Linked DNA regions of Homo sapiens: region 1 is linked to region 2. Evidence: promoter capture Hi-C in human tissues and cell types (Jung and others, 2019). All regions are on one chromosome and are shown on one strand. The core of a region is centred on a gene start or on the middle of the fragment in contact, and the rest is flanking DNA. Distances in the headings are between cores, read along the strand shown.

Region 1 (2,948 bases), core at 90-2,589, 250 kb before region 2:
CCCAAAATGCTGGGATTATGGGCGTGAGCCACCACTCCTGGCCTTAAATGATAAATATTAATAGTTTACATAAAATGCTCAGCATAGGGACTGGCTCATTACAAGCCCCAATCAGCAATAGCTGTTTTTATAATAGGCAGTCTGAGCCACTACAAAACCTGGATGTGAAAGGTGAAGCTAGCTAAGATCATTAAGTTCTCAAATTTTAAGTTAAATCTTGTTTCTAATGCCAAGGACAAACTATAATTCTTTACTTGTTCGATTGATTCTTTTGTTCATTCACTTATTATTCATTCATTTATTCCATACCAGGTACACAATAAATGCTTATTAAATGCTATTGAGTGAATAATAGTAAGTAACTTGGGGGAAAATAGAGCTTTTTTTTTTTTTTTTTTTTTTTTTAAGACAGTCTCCCTCTGTTGCCCAGGCTGGAGTGAAGTGGTGAGATCTTGGCTCACTGCAACCTCCACCTCCTGGGTTCAAGTGATTCCCCTGCCTCTGCCTCCTGAGTAGCTGGGATTATAGGCTTGCACCACCACGCCCGGCTAATTTTTGTATTTTTAGTATAGATGGGGTTTCACCATGTTGGTCAGGCTGGTCTCCAACTCCTGACCTCGTGATCTGCCCGCCTCGGCCTCCCAAAGGGCTGGGATTACAGGCATGAGCCACCGCTCCTGTCCAAGAGCTTTTTAAGGATATGCCCTCAGTGATATCTGTCAATGAGTGTAAAATACCCCGTGACCAGGACCAGGACACCATGCTGGATGCTGAAGGTTCAAATCCAGCTGTGTCACCTATTGGGAACCCAGCCAGGGATGTGCAGCATTCATTCCTTCAAGCTATCTAACCTATTACCTACTCAAGGCAGATGACTGCCTCATATTTAATGGAAAAATCAAGGTCATAGTGCTGAATGTTCCTCAATTTCCCTTCTCCTCTAGACCCGTCTTCCACTGAATCTGGTCTTAACCTCATTCCCTGATATCTCTTCCCTCCAGTACCCAAGAGCAGAGTTAATCACTTCCCAGTCATCTGTGCCACCATCGTGCAAATTTCTATTACTGCAAAGTAGCAGAGTTGATTTGGTTGTAGGTTTGCCTTCCACAAGAACTGAGTCTGTCTATGTCTTATTCTTCTTTGTGTGTCCAGCACCTCACATATGGCCTGGCATTTAGTAGGTGCTCAGTAAATGCTTACTGAAGGGGCTTTTGAGTTTTTGTTTTGTTTCATTTTTGAGACAGGGCCTCACTGTGGCTCAAGCTGGAGTGTAGTGGTGCGATCTTGGCTCGCTGCAGCTTCTGCCTACCAGGTTGAAGCGATTCTTGTGCCTCAGCCTCCTGAGTAACTGGGACTACAGGCCCTCACCAACAGGCCCAGCTAATTTTTGTATTTTTTGGTAGAGGCGGGGTTTCACCATATTGGCCAGGTTGATCTCCAACTCCTGACCTCAAATGATCCACCCTGCTCAGCCTCCCAAAGTGCTGGGATTACAGGCATGAGTCGCCGCACCTGGCTAGAAAGAGCTTTTGAATCAACTACTTCCCTTTAGTCTCCTCTTCAAAAATAAACTTTCCAAAAGACCTACACACTACCTCAATTTCCACTTCCTTATCCTAGATCTCTGTACATCTAATCTATCACCAAGCCCTATGAATTCAACCTCTAAAATATTTTCTGAATATGTCCACTCCTTGTTGCCCCATTGCCTCCACCTTCATCCAGACAGATATCTTTCATTGGCCTGTTTACTGCTGTAGTCTCCTAACTAGGGCTCCCTATTTATTCTCGTGTTAGCCCCCATCTATTCTGCGCACAGCCTTAGTGATTATTTTAATGTAAATGAAAGTATCATTACTCTGCATTTTCAGTTGCTTCCCAATGAGCTGAGGATACACTCCACATTCCCTGCTCTGGTCTACAAGGACCTACACAATCTGAATTCTACCAATCCCTCCCTCTTCAACTCATGCCATGCCCTAGTTGCTCATTCGGCTCCAGCCATGCTGGCCCTTAGAGGTTCGGATCAGCTCAACTCTTTCCCACTTCACAACCTTTGAATTTACTGTTTCCTCTATCTGGAGCACTCCTCCCCTCTCCTCACACAGCTGCTGCTTCTTATTCTTTTTTTTTTTTTTTTTTTTTTTAGATGGAGTTTCACTCGCCCAGGCTAGAATGCAGTGGCACGATCTCGGCTCACTGCAACCTCCGCCTCCTGGGTTCAAACAATTCTCCAGCCTCAACCTCCCGAGTAGCTGGGATTACAGGCACCCGCCACCATGCCCGACTAATTTTTGTATTTTTAGTAGAGACAGGGTTTCACCATGTTGGCCAGGCTGGTCTCGAACTCCTGACCTCAGGTGATCCGCCCGCCTCAGCCTCCCAAAGTGCTGGGATTACAGGCGTGAGCCACCGTGCCTGGCCAGAACTGGCTTCTTAAAACAAATTTATCAGCCAATTTATCCAAACTTCATGGATTGGCACACAAGATGTCTTCTTCCAATCCTAATTCCTTCCTCCCTGTCTCTCTTGGCACCCTCTTTCCCCTCCCTCTTTCATGCCTCACCTTTACAGAAATTCAGTTCAGTTTAATAACTATTAACTGGACATCCACTGTGTTCCAGGCACTGTACTTGACTATGGGGGAGAAAATATGAATGAAAACAGATAGCTGACTTCAAGGAATTTATATTCTATTAGTAGCAAAGGTAGATAGACATATGAACAAATATAACACAATGTTCCATTCCATAATGAAGATATATACTAAGGCTAGAAGAAGTACTGAGGAAAAAGTAATTAATTCTGCAAGGGTACAATGGCATGATGCTTCAGAGAAGGTTTCAAGATGAAATTCTGAGGATTTTGAAAGTTGGGTAGGAAATGGTCAGGTGGATCAAGGACGGAAAAACATTACTGGCCGAGTCAACAACAGGTTGACTAGGATC
Region 2 (3,166 bases), core at 266-2,765:
ATTCACACTTGGAGCCCAGACTCCCTCGTTCCCCACCCTTAACACGGGGGCCACCCTCACTTATTCAAGACAATTTCCATGGGCACTCCAGGTTTGACAATGGCCACCTTCATGGACTCACTGCCCAGGTCCACAGACATCACTGCCAGTGTATCTGAAGGGAAAAGAGGTTTGTCAGTTAGCTCTCCCTTCGCCCACCTTCCTGGGACTCCCTCTAATCAAAGCATACCACTTTCCATGGGTAAACGAAGATGGCAAAAGACAAAAAGGCCTGGACCTAACAACTCAAGAGACTTCTGGCCAACAGCCCCAAGCTCAATTCCCATCATGCATCCTTCAGTCATCATTTATCCATTTGCTCCCTCTACTGGGGTACATACCACTCAGTGCCAACAGGTCTGCCAAGAGCACAGCCACCAAGGCCCAACAGACTCGCCTCCTCGGCCTCTGCCTCCTAACTTTGTCTGCCATAGTGCCCCTGGGGGAGGCGAAGAAAGAAAACACTTAAAACTGGATACCCGGAGTGAAGGAGACAGAATCACATCCCAGAACGGAGAGGCTGTAAGATTCATATCTACTTCATTCTTACCCAGGGCAGATCAGCCTACTTCTCCCCTTCTCCCTCCTGATGGGTACAAACCATTCTCTAATCATCCCAGCAGCGCCCACACAAAGGCCCAAGTGAAAGAGCATGGGTCCTCGGCTTTGCCACATCCCTAAACAGAGAAGCTAACAGGACAAGAGAAAGGAGACCCGAGCCTTTTGTCCACCACACAGGCAGTGAGTGGCGCACCGCAGCACTGTGCCTGTTGTCAGACACCTGGGGTGCGGCCAGGGATCCCCGCCCAGGGCTCAACCACCTCCCCACACCTGGAGCTCCCCCGCTGACGGGGAAAGCCAGCTGGGCCTGGACGGGAAGAGAAAGGTAATGACGTTGGGGGTAGCTAGGATGAAGGAAAGGCCTATCTCCTCCTCGGCATCCCTGCGGGTTGTCCCGCCCCCTCCCCTTTCCCAGCTCACTCCCCGGCCCCGCTGTGCCCACAGACGCAGTGCCAGGGGCGGTAAGGTTCCCCGCCCGGCGGGTAGCCGTTACCCGGTGTTCACCTAAACCCCACCTGACGAAGGCGGCGGCTCCCACTCCCGGAAACGGATCCCGGCCCGCCCCAGCAAGTGGGGACAGACCGGGGGCCGAGCTGCGTGCCCCCCGGTGCGAGGCCGAGCGCCCGGCGTCCGCGCGGCCCTCCCTTGCGCTCCCGACCCGCCCCCGGAGCTCGCACGCTGTCTCCCCTAGGAGGGGTGGCCGGCCCGCACCTCCATCCACCCCCGCTACCTCTTGCCTCCGCTCCTGCGGCCCCAGCTCTGGGACAGACGCGGCACGAACGTACCCACGAGGCCGGCAGCGCCCCCCACCCGCGCCCTTCACAACTCCTCTCGGTTTGCAAACTGTTACATTAGCCACCAACCTCTCGGCGGCGTCTCGCGCACCAGCCGGCCCCGGACGCGGCGCGCGCTCATTGGAGCCTCGGCCGCCCGGCCCTGCGCTGCGCGCCCGGCCCCGCCCCCGCCGCCCCGGCGCGCGTACTCATTGGACCACGTCCCAGGCCCCGCCCCCTCCCTTTGCCAGCCTTGTAATGGGGCGGCGGAGGGGACCAGCCACCGGTTGGGCAGAAGCAGCCGGCGTCGGCCTGGGATTGGACCACGTCACGGGGCCAGCGCGCTCCACTCCTTCCTCCCCAGCGCCGGCCCCGGGGCGACCGCGGGACCTTTTCCGGCGCTGGATGCTTTGCTGCCGGGGTTCGGGAGTGACCTGCGCCTAGAGCAGGTCGGGCGCACTGCAGTCCCGCACTCGGGGCTCTTCTTCCGGTCACCTGTAGAGCCCGGCCGAGGAATGGAATAACAGGCGTCCTGTCCGCAGCCCCGCGGAGGGGGCGCTGGCCTGCCGGTTAGTATTGAGGTGCCCTAGGCTTTGGATAGACGTTGGAGAATGGCTGTCCCTCGGACTGAGTCCGTCGCAACCCCCTCTGTTTTACTGAGGAAACTGAAGCCACAGAAAAAGATGTTTGCTGATGGGTCAGAGATAACCGATGCATTCGTCGCAGAATCTGGCCAGGATTTCTTAGGTTAAGCCCCACTCATTTGTATAAGAAAGAATATTCCAAACTTAAGTACTACACACAAAAGACACTTTTATTTGTGAGGCTATAGTTGGTTGAGCTTGTGTGCACCTTCTCCTATTTCTGTTCTATTAAATCTTGTGAACATTTCTCTACTCTTTAGCTGTTTCTGTCATAGAATGACAGAAGCACCTCACTGCCTTCTCTTTTAACTTACAGCTCCATAGAAATGTGCGCAGTCGCCCGGGCGCGGTGGCTCACGCCTGTAATCCCAGCATTTTGGGAGGCCAAGGCGGGCGAATCACTGGAGGTCAGGAGTTCGAGACCAGCCTGGCCAACATGGTGAAACCCCGTCTCTACCAAAACTACAAAAATTAGCCAGGCGTGGTGGCGGGTGCCTGTAATCCCAGCTACTCACGAGGCTGAGGCAGGAGAATTGCTTGAATCCGGGAGGCAGAGGTTGCTGTGAGCCCAGACTGCGCCACTGCACTCCAGCCTGGGCGACAACAGCGAGACTCCTTCTCGAAAAAGAAATGTACGCAGTCCTTGGAGACTGCATTTTCCTTAAGTGTGGATGGAAATAAGTCATCTGTTTTCTCTCCTACTAAGTTGATGCCTGGCCACCCTTCACAGAAAGGCCCGCTTGAAGACCCTGGCTGTCAGGGCCAGGGTTGTGTCAAGCCTGAACTTGTTTAAGGAGCTCTTAGCTCTTCCTTTCTCTACATTTTTCGTGATGCTTAGGTGGAGAGTGGTCCGGTGTCTATGCTTAGAAGGAAAAATTATTGGCAGTCCCAGAGAGAGTCTATTCTTCCTTTTTTTTTTTTTTTTTTTTTTATTGATCATTCTTGGGTGTTTCTGGCAGAGGGGGATTTGGCAGGGTCATAGGACAATAGTGGAGGGAAGGTCAGCAGATAAACAAGTGAACAAAGGTCTCTGGCTTTCCTAGGCAGAGGACCCTGCGGCCTTCCGCAGTGTTTGTGTCCCTGGGTACTTGAGATTAGGGAGTGGTGATGACTCCTAACGAGCATGCTGCCTTCAAGCATCTGTTTAAC

Evidence for each region. Contacts are between HindIII fragments. The study calls those that stand out against the background at their distance.
Region 1: a fragment that was not itself captured here is called in contact with the fragment with the promoter of HYOU1 in region 2 in 1 of the 25 tissues and cell types used here (small bowel).

The regions. Positions count from the first base shown.
Region 1 is chr11:118,802,713-118,805,660 of GRCh38, forward strand. No RefSeq gene overlaps it. Among named protein-coding and RNA genes, the nearest start is that of DDX6, 13 kb to the left of the region's middle. The HindIII fragment of the contact is 7,533 bases long and covers 1-2,948 here.
Region 2 is chr11:119,055,690-119,058,855 of GRCh38, forward strand. HYOU1 (hypoxia up-regulated 1) reads right to left here and starts at 1,516. Exons shown (of 26, transcript NM_006389.5): 1 at 1,331-1,516; 2 at 381-478; 3 at 61-154. The coding sequence starts at 471. RefSeq lists enhancers at 614-1,114, 1,115-1,614, 1,974-2,023 and silencers at 1,094-1,373, 1,464-1,743. The HindIII fragment of the contact is 15,957 bases long and covers 1-3,166 here.